Linked DNA regions of Homo sapiens: regions 1, 2, 4 and 5 are each linked to region 3. Evidence: promoter capture Hi-C in 16 types of primary human blood cells and fetal thymus (Javierre and others, 2016). All regions are on one chromosome and are shown on one strand. The core of a region is centred on a gene start or on the middle of the fragment in contact, and the rest is flanking DNA. Distances in the headings are between cores, read along the strand shown. Region 1 holds the start of NPHS1 (NPHS1 adhesion molecule, nephrin). Region 2 holds the start of SDHAF1 (succinate dehydrogenase complex assembly factor 1). Region 3 holds the start of FXYD1 (FXYD domain containing ion transport regulator 1). Region 4 holds the start of LRFN3 (leucine rich repeat and fibronectin type III domain containing 3). Region 5 holds the start of UPK1A-AS1 (UPK1A antisense RNA 1).

Region 1 (2,700 bases), core at 1-2,500, 710 kb after region 3:
ACCCATACCCAGGATGGAGAGGATCACTCTGGGAGACACGAGCTCGGGCCCCATCTCAGAGCGGCCGACCTGGCACTCATACTCCGCGTCATCGCTGAGGTCACAGGCCTCGATGTGCAGGTGGAATTCACCTGCAGGGGGAGCCGGAAGTCAGGGCCGCAGCTTCCGCTGGTGGCTGAGGGTCTCAGGCTCTGATCCCTTACCTCTAGCAGGGTCCCCTTCCAGGCGGTACCTCGGGAAGCCTGGGATCCTGGGGTCGGGGCCCAGGAGCAGCCCATCTTTGGCCCATTGCACCGCACTGCCAGGGGTGCTGACCCCACAACGCAGCTCCACTGAGGCCCCCTCCACCACCGTCAGGTTTTCAGGCAGGGCCCAGAAGCCCCGGGGAACGGAGGCAGGAATCGCCAACTGCGCCAGGCCTGAGGACACAGCGCGGTGCAAGGAAAGGGCAGAGGGTTTGTCTAGGGAAGGTAAGTGGGAAATGGGGGCCACTTGGCGCTGGGTACAAGGCTGGGATCCCACTCACCTTCAGTCAGCAGCCCCAGGAGCAGGAGAGAAGCCCTGAGCGTCGTCCCCAGGGCCATCACAGGTCCCCCTACTGTGACCCCCACAGCGCCCGCTGCCAGCCACCTGCGTCTGTCTGGCTTTCTCTGGGTCCCTCTCTGTGTGTCTCTGCCACCTGCTTTTCTTTTTTATCTCTTTCCGTTACTCTCCTCCCTTTCTCGTTTTCCTCTTCCCCTCTTCCCTGTGAGTATCTCTCTCTGTCTTGCTCTCAGTCTCAATCTCTGAGTCTCTTTCTCTGTCTCTTTAAAAAAACTTTTTTTTCTTTTTTCTTTTTTTTTTCTTTTTTTTTTTTTTAGAGACGGGGTCTCACTATGTTGGCCAGGTTGATCTCAGACTCTTTCCTTCAAGCCATCCTCCCACCTTGGCCTCCCCAAGTGTTGGGATTACAGGCGTGAGCCACTGCGCCCAGTCTCTTTATCTTTCCATCTTTCTCTCCTTGTCTAAGCCGTTCTCTCTCCTTTTGTCTCTGTCTCTTCCTCTCTCTCTGTCTCTCTCTCTCTCTCTCTCTCAATCTCTATCTTCTCTCCTGCCACCCCTCACTCCTGCTCCTTGTCTCACTACTCACAGCCTTTCAAGAAGGACCTGCAGCCCAGAGTCCAGCAGGCCAGGAGCCTAGGAGAGCGATGAGGCTGATGCAGGCACTGGCAGAGTCAGCCCTGCTCTCTGACCCAGCTTGAGCTCATTCTCACAGTGCAACCTCCCCCAGGTACCTTCCAGAGCCCCCAGCTCTGGCCTCTGCCCAGCAGGCTCCTCCCAGCTGGCCCAGCTGGAGCATAAAATCCCCTGTCAGCACATGCCAGGCGCGTTCCTCGGTGCCTCCCCAGCCTCCGTGACCCCAGGGCCTGGCTTAGGCTGGGAAGATGGGAGAAGTCAGATCAAGGTGGTCTCCCAGCTCAGCAGGGGAGCAGCCAGCTGGGCCCCCAGCTCTTCCTTGCCCTGATACATGACCTTGGCAAGTCTCTTTCTTTCTTTCTTTCTTTTCTTGAGATAGTCTTGCTCTGTTGCTCAGGCTGGAGTGCAGTGGCATCTCGGCTCACTGCAACTTCCACCTCCCATGGCTTGAACCTCCCAGGTTCAAGTAATTCTCCCACCTCTGTCTCCCAAGTAGCTGGTGCTACAGGTATATAGCACCATGCCTGGCTAATTTTTGTATTTTTACTAGAGACGGGGTTTCATCATGTTGGCCACGCTGGTCTCGAACTCCTGACCTCAGGTGATCCATCTGCCTCAGCCTCCCAAAATGCTGGGATTACAGACATGAGCCACCGCACCTGGCCTCCCTTCCTTTTTTAGTAGACATCAGTGCCTAAATGATGTCAGGGATCTCTGCTGGGGAGGATGCAAGAGTGAGTGTGACAGGCTGGGAGAGTGTGGGAGAGAGGGAAGATATGCATGTGTGTACGTGGGTGTGAGAGTGGGGAAGGTTAGAGTGAACTGCGATCTGTAATAAGCATGTGGAGAGCGTGTGTGTGACAGTGTCTTACGTGGGAGTGCACAGGGTGTGGGCGGGAGTAAAAGGCAGAGTCCAATTCCACCGGCCCCCAGTGTGGGTGCAGTGTGAGCCCAAAGTGGGCGCCCTTTGGCAAGGACTGCATGAGCTTTCTTCTCCCTCTTTTTCTTGCCCTCTCTCCCATCTCTTCTTTCCTTCTCCATGTCTCTCTCTCTCCCTCCCTCTATCTATCTTGATTTATCTTTCTTTCTTTTGAGATGGAATCTTGCTCTGTTGCCCAGGCTGGAGGGCAGTGGCATGATCTTGGTTCATTGCAGCCTCAACTTCCTGGGCTCAGGTGATCCTCCTGCCTCAGCCTCCTGAATAGCTGGGACTACAGGTGCACACCACCACTCCAGCTAATTTTTTAAAATTTGTTTGTAGAGACAGGGTCTTTCTCTATTGCCCAGGCTGGAGTGCAGTGGTGTGATCATGGCTCATTGAAGCCTCAAACCTCCTAGGCTCAAGTGTTCTTTCTGCCTCAGCCTCCTGAGTAGCTGGGACTACAGGCCCGCATCACCACTCTGGCTATTTTTTTTTTTTTTTTTTTTTTTTTGAGAGGGAGTCTTGCTCTGTCACCCAGGCTGGAGTGCAATGGTGCGATGTTGGCTCACTGTAACCTCCGCCTCCCAGGTCCAAGCGATTCT
Region 2 (2,700 bases), core at 22-2,521, 860 kb after region 3:
CAAGCCTAATCCCCGCCCCTGACCAGCTTCTCCTCTCTGAAGGGGAATGGACCCCCCAGCTGGTTGCCGGCCCAAGTGTGCAGAGCCGCGGTTGCGCGCTGGGTGGAGGGGTCCCCCAAGCTCCGGTGCTGGTGGGGCCCGAGGATGCTGTGTCCTTGCGGGCCTCCCTAGCGCTACGAGGACACCTCCAGGCGGCCCGCGGGGACAACAACGGCATTGCGGCCTACCACCTAAAGCTCCTGGGAGGACAACGGGGTTGCAGTCTAGTCGACTGTTCAGGGTGTCCCGGACTCCGGGCTTTAACAGTCGGTAAGGACCCAAACACCGCTGTCCACTGCCCCGACTCCCACCCGCAGAGGGCGCGACCAACCCAGCTCCTAGAGCCACACGCTGCCTCTGGGGGCTTGGCGCCCACACTCTCTCTGCTTGTCTTCCCCTGGCCCGAGAAGCCTGTCCAACCGGCCGAGAGCCATTTCCCTACGGGGTCTCGTCCCTCTGCACGTGCCCAGGGCTGGGACCCCAGACACAGACCTGCCCCGGACGAGGGAACGCACGGAGCTTCCCAAGATGGTTTGAATCAGTAACTGACGGCAAAAGCACGCTTGTGCCCGGCGTCTCTCCCAGTGCCCCGTGCCCTTGGGACCCAAAGTCCGAACCGGTAGCCGGGCGCGGTGGCTCACGCCTGGAATCCCAACACTTTGGGAGGCTGAGAATCGTTTGAGCCCAGGAGTTCGAGCCATTCTGGGCAACATAGGGAGACCCATCTCTGCAAATAATAATAATAATAAATAAATAAATAAATAAATAAATAAATAAATAAATAGCGGGCGCGGTTGCGCGCGTCTGTGGTTCCAGCTACTAGGGGAGTTGAGGTGGGAGGATCGCTTGGGCCCAGGAGTTCGAGGCTGCAGTGAGCCAAGATCGCGCCACTGCACTCCAGCCTGGGCGACAGCGAGACCCCGTCACACACAAAAAAACCCCTAGCTTCCTCTTCTCCCAGAATGCAGGAGTTAGGTGAGGACCCTCTGTTCCCTCCAACCCAAGACCTAGGAGTCCGAACACATAACGCCCTCCAGGCGGTGCCAGGATCCCCAGAACTGCTGTCCCCTCAAGAACACACGTCCCCTACGTGGGAGGCCGCGACCAGCGACTCCGCCCACTTCTCCCAGCCGGCTGTTACGTAACTGCAACGACAGCCAGTCAGACGCGGCAGCGCCGGATGGCGGGAGGCGGGAGTTGGAGGCCAAGGGAAGCGCTGGGCGGAAGTGGCTGTGGCTTTGCCCTTTGGCCTTTGCTGGCTGTGTGGCGGCTCCGCGGTTCGCAGGTCGTTCGCTGAGCGTCTCTGCTTAGCCGCGGTCATGAGCCGGCACAGCCGGCTGCAGAGGCAGGTTCTGAGCCTGTACCGCGATCTGCTGCGCGCCGGGCGTGGGAAGCCGGGCGCCGAGGCGCGAGTGCGGGCAGAGTTCCGGCAGCATGCGGGCCTGCCGCGGTCCGACGTGCTGCGCATCGAGTACCTGTACCGCCGCGGGCGGCGCCAGCTGCAGCTGCTACGCTCGGGCCACGCCACCGCCATGGGCGCCTTCGTACGCCCGCGGGCCCCGACCGGGGAGCCTGGCGGCGTGGGTTGCCAGCCTGACGACGGCGACAGTCCAAGGAACCCCCACGACAGCACGGGGGCACCGGAGACCCGCCCCGACGGACGGTGACAGGCGAAGAGCCGAACTCGCTCGATGGCGTGGTGGAGCCAGGAGGCTCGCCTGACTGCATGGGGGGACTGGGGAACCCGCCTAAGGTGAGAGGTCTTAAGAGACTAGCTTGACGAATTGGGGATGTCAGAGACTCCTCCTTGGCGACGCAGGGGGCCTAGAGAGCCCCGTGATGGACGGCAAGGGAGGCCCGCCTTTTCCGATGCTTGGAGACAGGTCGGTGCTCCTCCCCCATGAGGGCTTGGGGCGGCCTGGGACGCTGGCGGGCTGGACAGTGTCAAGCCAAGAGCTACTTGCCCGAAGGTACGGGGAGCCAGGACGACCCCCGGTGGACAGGGAGAGCCTGAGACGCCCTTCTCTTGACCCCTGAGAACATACCCACTTCTGGCTCCTCAAGGAGTCTCCCCTCTCCTGTATTTAACTCTGAGAAGTGCAGACTTTTTGCTGAGAACGTTTTGGGAAGGTGCCCTGATGAGCGGTGAGAAGCCCGGAATCCCCTTCTGGAAAACTTTCCCCCATTAATTGTGACAAGCCAGGACCATGAGGAAGGGGTAGGGGTCTATCACCCTGGTTGATCAACTGAAGACCCCCAAAGGCCCCTACTTGATGGTTTTGAGGGGCAACATTGACTCATTTGCCCCTTCCCTCTCGGAATGTTGGACAAAGGGAATAAAATTGGGGATATGTCTACTTCCCTGTTGGTGGTCTTAAAGCTTTTATATATTTCAGGATTTTTGAAACACCCCCAGCCCCCCTGCCACCACACACACACGCACACAGACACCTGGAAGGGACCATCTGGGAGGTGATAGGTGTGGGGATCTGACTCCTTCCGGAGCCCTGTAGACTGGCACATTGATTGAAGCGGCATAGTTTTCTCCCCTGGGCAGATCTGTGGAGGGGGCTCATCCTGGCTTAACCCCCAAAGATACCCCAGTTGGCTCCCTAATGGAGGGCAAGTGATTTAACATCTTTGTGTGGAAGAGGAAATGGT
Region 3 (2,700 bases), core at 187-2,686:
TGCGCATCTGTCACCGTGGCCAACCATGTGCCTGTTTGCTCAAGCATAGGGTGTGAACCAGTGTGTGTGTTTCTGCTTTTGTGGGTATGTGTGAGAGCGGCGGGTTGTCCTTGATGGTGTTTCTGCTTGTGTATCTGTGCCCATGGAAATCTGTCTGTGTGTACACAAGCTTGTTGGCCTTCCTATCTTTGGGACCATGTAGGAGTGCTGGCTGCATGTCTGTACCTTTGGGGTTTTTTTGTTTTGTTTTTGTTTTTGAGACAGAGTCTCGCTCTGTTGCCCAGGCTAGAGTGCAGTGGCATGATCTCAGCTCACTGCAAGCTCTGCCTCCCGGGCTCAAGTGACTCTCCTGCCTCAGCCTCCGGAGTAGCCGTGATTACAGGCGCACGCCACCACACCCAGCTAATTTTTGTATATTTTTTTAGTAGAGACGAGCTCTCGTCGGGTTGGCCAGGCTGGTGTTGAACTCCTGGCCTCAAGTGATCCTCCCGCCTTGGCCTCCCAAAGTGCTGGGAGTACAGGTGTGAGCCACCGTACCTGGCCATGTTTGGCCATGCATCTTAGAATGCATTTATGTGCGGTGTGCACATACTTGTGTGTTTCTGTATGGCCATTTGTGGGTGGGTCTTCACATAAACATGCATTTTTGTGGCCAGTTTGTGAGTGTAGATGGTGATGTGGCTATGTCTTTGACTGTATCTCTGTGTGGCCATCCATCTACATGAGCGTGCGTGGGTCTGTGTAGACATAAATGTGCTTGTTCTGGTATTTTGTGACTGGCATAAAAGGTGTTGGCTGTGTGTCCGGGTCTTTGGGTTTCTCTATCAGTGTGTCATTCTGTGTGTGTCTGCTTCTATGGATGTACATACATACATGGTTTTGTCTGGTTTTGTACCTGTATATCTGGGTCTTTGGGATTGTGTGTGGGTGTGTGTGTGTGGTGCATTTCTGGGGATCTCACCACAGCAGATAGCGCACATGCGCGCGCACACACACACACACACACACACCTCCCTCCCGTCCTCTAAAACAGCCCTGTTAAGGACCTCACGGAGCACTGGGATCGGGGGTCAGTGGGCTCCTGGGCAGTCAGGCTGGGTGACCTTCGGCCCTGGCTGGACCCAGTTCCCAGGGGGCAGCCGCCTCAGCCCAAAAGCTCTTGGAGGCGTGTGTGTTTGTGTGTGTGTGTGTTCACAACCCTGTCCTCCACAATCCTCCTAGCCTCTCCAGCCTGCCTGCTGGCTGCCTGCTGCTGCTCTCTCTGAACTGAGAGAGTTAACCAAGCGGGCCAGGGCAGTCTGGGCTGGGGGCCGCCCCCTGGCCCCCCTCCAGCCCCAGCTCCAGTTTCAGCTGCTGGTTGGGGAGGGCATGGGTGGGGTGGGGCTGGGAGGGGAGGCTGCTGGGGGCGGCGCGTCCAGCTCTGGGCCAGGGGGTCCAAAGTGCTCAGCCCCCGGGGCACAGCAGGACGTTTGGGGGCCTTCTTTCAGCAGGGGACAGCCCGATTGGGGTGAGCGTCCCCCACTCCTTCCCTCCAGGCCTCACCCCTGGTCTGGCTGGGCCGCCTATTTTGGGAGCAGGAGTGGCCAGCCCGAGGCTTCCCAGGCAGGCCAACCCAAGAGGGAGGGAGTGTGGTTGAGGCAGTGGGTTCTGCAGGGTGGGATGTGGGTGACTCCTCCCTGCCCTGCTGGTGCGTGTGCACCCTGGCAGGGTGTGGAGTTGGGACACACACGTGTGTAGGGCTGGTTGCGTCACTGCGTGGGGGCACCGGAGGCCCAGAGGAGGAGTATTGGATGCCTGACGGTGTTTACACCCCACGTCCTGCTCCAACCAGCAGTTTGGGGAGAGGTTGTTGTTCATGTCCATTCCGGCCCCACTGTGTGTGTGTGTGTGTGTGTGTGTGTGTGTGTGTGTGTGTATCCCTGCCCCAGCATGTGTTTTCTATCTCTAAGGCCCACTGGGCTGGGCCTCATGTCACTTGCCTGACATCCGATTGTGAAAGATGTCACCCAGAGGCGGGCAGAGGGGCTGTCTTTTCCTTTTCTCGTTGCTGCCCAGGGAGGAGACGGGGTGACCTTTCCCACAGGGGCAGCCTGTGGCGATGTGGCAGCTGGGCCTCACCCCGGCAGGGCTGTGCGTGACCCCCTGAGTGGGGGAAGGCAGGCTGTTGCCATGGTGGCCTGAGCGAGCAGAATTCCTCCAGGGTGAAGTGGGAGATATTTATACCCGGGGTCAGGCCGCGAGCGGGCGGGCGGAGAGGGCAGGGAGCTGGGATTTCGCGGGGCACAGTGAGGCCGGGCATGTAGGCAGGTGGGACTTGGGCGTGCCCTGCTGTCTCCTGCTCTGTGTTTGTGTGAGGCAGCGCCTCCTCTGCCCTGCCAGGGTAGGTCTGGGAATCGGGGGCCTGCTGCGGGAGGTGGAGGCCCAAGGGAGGCCCCCCGGGGACTGTGTGTCTCACCCCCGTCCCTGCTACGTTGTGTTGTTGTGTGATCCCATCGTGGAGGTTGTTTTGGTGACACTGTGTCCCCACGAAGCTGGGGATACCCGTTTCTCTAGCTTGGAGCCACCAAGATAGAGGACAAACACTTCTGTGATTCAGTCCCCAGACTGTCTCTGACTTAATCCCTTGGGTTCAAGCCCTATGTGGGAGAGCAAGGGCACACACTGCCTAATCCGTGGTGTCCCCCCCAGGACAATGGCGTC
Region 4 (2,700 bases), core at 201-2,700, 800 kb after region 3:
CCTGAGGCCAAGAGTTCAAGACCAGCCTGGGCAGCATATTGAGACCCTGTCTCTACAAGAAATTTTAAAAATTAGCTGGATATGGCGATGCATGCCTGTAGTCTCAGTTACTCTGGAGCCTGAGGTGGGAGGATTGCTTGAGCCCAGGAATTTGAGGTTGCAGTCAATTATGATTGCACCAATGTACTGGGTGACAAAGCAAGACCCTGTCTCAAAAAAAAAAGTATGGTCTTTGAAAAGTCACATTAGCATCACCTGGGTACTCGTTAAAAATGCAAATGTTTGGGTCCCACCTCAGACCCACTGAACCAGAAACTCTGAGGTTGGGACCTGGAGATCTATGGTGCCCCCGGGTGATCCTGGTGGGCTGCACTGCAAGGACACCTGGCCTGGCTCCTGCAAGGCAAGGCATCCCTCTCTGCTTTTCTTTCTTTCTTTCTTTCTTTTAAAGACAGAGTCTCACTCTGTCACCCAGGCTGGAGTGCAATGGCTGGATCTCAGATCACTACAATCTCCACCTCCCGGGTTCAAGCAATTCTCTTGCCTCAGCCTCCCGAGTAGCTGGGATTACGGGCGTCCGCCACCACACCCGGCTAATTTTTGTATTTTTAGTAGAGACGGGGTTTCTCCATGTTGGCCAGGCTGGTCTCCAACGCCTGATCTCAAAAGATCCGCCCGCCTTGGCCTCCCAACGAGCCGGGATTACAGGCGTGAGCCACCGCCCCCGGCTGTCAGTGTGTCTTGAGGTCTTTCCCTAATCCCAGATGGCACAAGTTTTCCCTCTTGCAGGCAGAGAAAGGAGCCTTGGGAAGGAGCCCCTCTGGCCTGAAAGATCAAGCCTATTGCTGGGCATGGCCAGGTAAGGAAACTCCAACCGTGGAAAGGACATTCCAGGGAGGTGGTGCTGAGATAAGGGGGGCAGAAAGAGACAGGTTTGGGGGGCCAGTGGCTCTGGAATGAAGCGCTACACTCAAGGCTAGGAATAGTTACTGAATGCACATACACACATACCATTCTCACAGCCCAGGTGCTGCGTCTTAGAGCGTGTGAGTGTGTATGTGTGTGTCTGTGTGTGCGCGCGCACGCACGTCTCTATCTCTGTTTCTGTCTTTCTCTGACTTGTCCTTATCTCTTGTCTCTCCATCACTCTCTGTGTCTCGCTGTCTCTGTGCATTTCCATGTCTCGAATATGTGTGTGTTTCAATCTGTCTCTCTGCCTCTTTCCATTTTCTCCTCTCTATCCATCAATCTAAGCCTGCCCATCTTTTTGTCTGCCTTTCTGTATCTCCGTTCTTCTCTGTCTCTCTGTCTCAGTCTCTCTGTATCCAGGGATTCTCTTTCCCAGCAGCGCCAGTGCGACTCCATGGGAGGTGGGGCCGGGGCGCGTCTTTGAGAGAAGGGGCGGGTGCCTACGCCTTTAAGCGCGGGTGCGCGCGGAGCCTGCGCCTTTAAGCGCCGGTGCGCGCGCTGCCCTGGGTTGCCGGCGAGGAGGCCGCGGGAGCGCCTGGACCCGGCCCGCCCAGCCCGGCCCCCGCCCGGCCCCCGCCTCGGCCCCGGCGGGGGAGGGGTCTCTGAGCGCGGCCCCTCCCCCCTGCGCCCCCGCCTGCGCTGCGGTGCCCCCATCCCGCGTGTCCCAGTCTGTCTGACCGTCCCTCCGCTCCCAGGCCTCGCCCCACCCGGCCCTGGGGCTGCCCGGTCGCCCCCCTCCCCACCGCAGCCGGTCCCCTCCCTCCCAGTCAGCCTCCGCCGCAGCCCAGGAAGCCAGCCGGGACGCCGCCGCCCCGGACCCCGCGCCCTAACCTCCACCTCGGGGGCCTGCACCCCCAGATTGAATCGGGAATTCCGGAAACCCGAGCCTGGAACCCTGATCTGGGACCAGCACCCCGAGATCCGGCCGTGGAACCCCAAGATCTGGAGCCTGAACCCCAGTATATGGGGCTGGAATCTCAACATCGGTCACTGGGACCTCAATATTTGGAGCCGGAACCCCACAATTTGGAACACAGACCCCAATATTTGGAGCAGAACCCCAAGATTTGACATCTAAAACCTCAAGCCTGGAGCTGAACTCTGAATTCTGGGCCTGGGACCTTGAAATCTGGGACTGGATTTCCAGTACTGTACCCTGGAACCCACTCTTGGGGACCTGAACCCTGGGATTCAGGCCTCAAATTCCAAGATCTGGACTGTGGGATTCCAAGGGGCCTGAACCCGAGTTTGGGCCTGAAGTCCTTGCTGCAGACCTGAGTGCTTAAATCTGGGGCTTGAGACCTCCCAATCTTGACTCAGCACCCCAATATCTGAATGCAGAACCCCGGGATCGGATCTCAGACTCTAAACCCCACCGTTTGGCTGCTTAGCATCCCAAGACTGGACCTGGGAGACCCTGACCCTGAACAACCCAAACTGGACCCGTAAAACTGGACCCTAGAGGCCCAATATTTAGGGGTCTGGAACCCCGAGTATTAAGGTCTGGAGACTCCGTTGCCACAGATTTGAGCCGAGTCAGGACACAGTCCCTCTACAGAAGCCTTGGGGACAGGAAAAGCATGACCAGATGCTCCCTCCAGAGCCCTGACCTCTGACTCCCCTGGAGCTAGGACTCTGCTCCCTGGGGCTGCTTCTAGCTCAGGTAAGGCTGCTGAAACCTCAAGGTGGGGACGGGCTGGGAGGAGCATTGTGGCTGCGGGTTACGGTACC
Region 5 (2,700 bases), core at 56-2,555, 530 kb after region 3:
ACATTGTTTTAAAGCAGTCAGGAGGTTGTGCAATGTCATCCATCTCCCAGCAGCAGAGTTCACACATCCACACGCAACCTCCTGCTGCTTTATAGATGAAGGTGCCAGGTGAGGACATGAAAAGAATTTGCATTAAACATCAACTGACAAGCTTTTTTTTTTCTCCTGCCCTCTGTGCCGTTGGCACAACCCACCAAATTCAATCAAGTTCTTCTATATCTTCCAATACCCAGTCTGTGTCAAATGTCTCTGATTATCTGAGAACATCGTTTTATGTTGTTTGTTTTATTTTAAGAGACAGGGTCTCACTCTGTTGCCCAGGCTGGAGTGTAATGGCACAATCTCGGCTCATTGCAACCTCTGCCTCCTGGGTTCAAGCTATTCTCCTATCTCATCCTCCTGAGTAGCTGGGATTACAGGCACCCATCACCATGCCCAGCTAATTTTTGTATTTTTGCATTTTTAGTAGATGGGGTTTCACCATATTGGTCAGGCTGGTCTTGAACTCCTGACCTCAGGTGATCCACCCGTCTCAACCTCCCAAAGTGTTGGGATTACAGGCGTAAGCCACTGCACCCACCCTTGTTTGTTTTGTTTTAAGAGACAGGGTTTTGCTCTGTTGCCCAGGCAGGAATGCAGTGGTGCGATCATAGCTCGCTGAGGCCTCCAACTACTGGGCTCAAACGATCCTCCAACCTCAGCCTCCCAAATAGCTAGGACTAACACTACCACTAGTAGTAACTATGCTTAACTAATTTTTTTATTTTTATTTTTTGTAGCGACGGGGTCTCACTGTGTTGCCCAGGCTGATCTTGAACTCCAGGGTTCAAGCAATCTTCCCATCTCAGCCTCCCAAAGTGCTGGGATTACAGGTGTGAGCCACCAATGCCCAGCCCTAATTTTTGTATTTTTAGTAGAGAAGGGGTTTCACCATGTTGGCCAGGCTGGTCTCGAACTCCTGACTCAGGTGATCGCCCCCTCGGCCTCCCAAAGTGCTGGGATTATAGGCGTGAGCCACCACGCCTCGCCTGTCTCAAAAATAAATTAATTAAATTAAATATTTCAAAATACAGAAAAGTTGGAAGACAATACAGCGAACACCTGAACACCCACCACATATTATAGATGCTGCTAGTCACACTGCCCCAAACTTTTTTAAAACTTGCATTTCCCCAGTGATGCTTCCCTGACGGGGTGTGGCTTCACGGGCTCTGCCCGACGGGCCGTCCTCCCTCTGTCTCCCCAGTACCTGGTGCTCATGCTCATCGTCTACATCTTCGAGTGCGCCTCCTGCATCACGTCCTACACCCACCGTGACTACGTGAGCCCGGCGAGGCCTGGGGAGGGGCCTGACCTGCATGGGAGGGGCGAGGGTCCCGGCGCGGCGGGGCGGAGGTCGTCCTCTCTCCCCACCCAGCCCTGCCGGCCCTTGTTCTTCCCTGTTCTCCTCAGATGGTGTCCAACCCATCCCTGATCACCAAGCAGATGCTGACCTTCTACAGCGCGGACACCGACCAGGGCCAGGAGCTGACCCGCCTCTGGGACCGCGTCATGATTGAGGTGGGCGGGGTGGACCGGGTGCTGGGAGGGCCCTGGGCTCCGTCCACAGAGGCCGATAGAGCTCCCGATGTGCCAGCTTTTAGAGGAGTGAGTGCCTTAAAGACATCCGCTCATGAGATCTCTAGGAGAGCAGGGCTGCGGTCATCACCGTTCTGCGGATGAGTAAACAGGCCCAGAAAGGGAAAGTCCCTTGCCCGAGGCCACACAGTCGGTAAGTGGTGGGAGCTGGGATTGGAACCCGGCAGCCTAGCTCCTGACCTCCCTGCTCTTAGCCTACACATACTACCTCAACAGAAATGTTGATAATAACAATGATAGTAACAGCACCATTCACTGAGCTAGGTTTCACACTGTTCAAAGGACTTTTATTTTTATATTTTGAGATGGGGTCTTGCTCTGTTGCCCAGGCTGGAGTGATCATAGCTCACTGCAACCTCCAACTCCTGGGCTCAAGTGATCCTCCCGCCTCAGCTTCCCGAGTAGCTGGGAATACAGGTGCGCCCCACCACACCCGGCTAAGTTTTTTAAATTATCTTTTGTGGAGATGGGGGTCTTGCTCTATTGCCCAGGCTGGTCTGGAACTCCTGGGCTCAGGATTGGAGCGATTCTCCCACCTCCGCCTCTCAAAGTGCCGAGATCACAGGCATGAGCCACGAGTGCCTGGCCTCAAAGCACATTTTTTTTTTTCTTTTTATCTTTTTTTTTTTTTTTTTTTTTTTGAGACAGAGTCTTGCTCTGTCGCCCAGGCTGGAATGCAGTGGCGCGATCTCGGCTCACTGCAAGCTCCGCCTCCCGGGTTCACGCTATTCTCCTGCCTCAGCCTCCCGAATAGCTGGGACTACAGGCGCCTGCCACCGCGCCCAGCTGATTTTTTGTATTTTTAGTAGAGATGGGTGTTAGCCAGGATGGTCTTGATCTCCTGACCTTGTGATCCACCTGCCTCGGCCTCCCAAAGTGCTGGGATTACAGGCTTGAGCCACCGTGCCCAGCCTTTCAAAGCACTTTTAAAGCTTTTTTAATCCTCACGACCACTCCATAAGGGAGATCGGCCTTTTAGTGATGAGGAGACCAAAGCAAGAGGTTGAATATCTTGCATGAGGTCACACACCTGGTAGGTCACAGAACTGGAAGGATTCAAAC

What was found. The method cuts DNA at HindIII sites, captures the fragments that hold promoters and counts their contacts. A CHiCAGO score of 5 or more calls a contact.
Region 1: a contact is called between the fragment with the promoter of NPHS1 here and the fragment with the promoter of FXYD1 in region 3, in 2 of 17 cell types (activated CD4 T cells and monocytes). The highest score is 6.3, in activated CD4 T cells.
Region 2: the fragment with the promoter of SDHAF1 here is called in contact with the fragment with the promoter of FXYD1 in region 3 in 9 of 17 cell types (neutrophils, activated CD4 T cells, total B cells and 6 more); the score reaches 14.9 in neutrophils.
Region 4: a contact is called between the fragment with the promoter of LRFN3 here and the fragment with the promoter of FXYD1 in region 3, in 3 of 17 cell types (neutrophils, erythroblasts and monocytes). The highest score is 6.9, in neutrophils.
Region 5: the fragment with the promoter of UPK1A-AS1 here is called in contact with the fragment with the promoter of FXYD1 in region 3 in 2 of 17 cell types (neutrophils and erythroblasts); the score reaches 9.8 in neutrophils.

The regions. Positions count from the first base shown.
Region 1 is chr19:35,851,254-35,853,953 of GRCh38, forward strand. NPHS1 (NPHS1 adhesion molecule, nephrin) reads right to left here and starts at 1,251. Exons shown (of 29, transcript NM_004646.4): 1 at 527-1,251; 2 at 204-419; 3 at 9-131. The coding sequence starts at 584. It also overlaps a transcript of KIRREL2 not described here. RefSeq lists enhancers at 1-537, 538-1,179. The HindIII fragment of the contact is 3,857 bases long and covers 1-2,700 here.
Region 2 is chr19:35,993,917-35,996,616 of GRCh38, forward strand. It overlaps SDHAF1 (succinate dehydrogenase complex assembly factor 1), which reads left to right and starts at 1,272. Exons shown (of 1, transcript NM_001042631.3): 1 at 1,272-2,396. The coding sequence starts at 1,359. The coding sequence ends at 1,706. RefSeq lists enhancers at 235-734, 1,069-1,118, 1,379-1,458 and silencers at 1,519-1,578, 1,609-1,728. The HindIII fragment of the contact is 4,511 bases long and covers 1-2,417 here.
Region 3 is chr19:35,137,388-35,140,087 of GRCh38, forward strand. FXYD1 (FXYD domain containing ion transport regulator 1) reads left to right here and starts at 1,437. Exons shown (of 8, transcript NM_021902.4): 1 at 1,437-1,507; 2 at 2,689-2,700. The coding sequence starts at 2,693. The HindIII fragment of the contact is 25,239 bases long and covers 168-2,700 here.
Region 4 is chr19:35,934,924-35,937,623 of GRCh38, forward strand. It overlaps LRFN3 (leucine rich repeat and fibronectin type III domain containing 3), which reads left to right and starts at 1,451. Exons shown (of 3, transcript NM_024509.2): 1 at 1,451-2,632. The HindIII fragment of the contact is 21,793 bases long and covers 1-2,700 here.
Region 5 is chr19:35,671,986-35,674,685 of GRCh38, forward strand. It overlaps UPK1A-AS1 (UPK1A antisense RNA 1), which reads right to left and starts at 1,306. Exons shown (of 2, transcript NR_046420.1): 1 at 1,250-1,306. It overlaps UPK1A (uroplakin 1A), which reads left to right. Exons shown (of 8, transcript NM_007000.4): 4 at 1,247-1,321; 5 at 1,453-1,560. The HindIII fragment of the contact is 2,419 bases long and covers 150-2,568 here.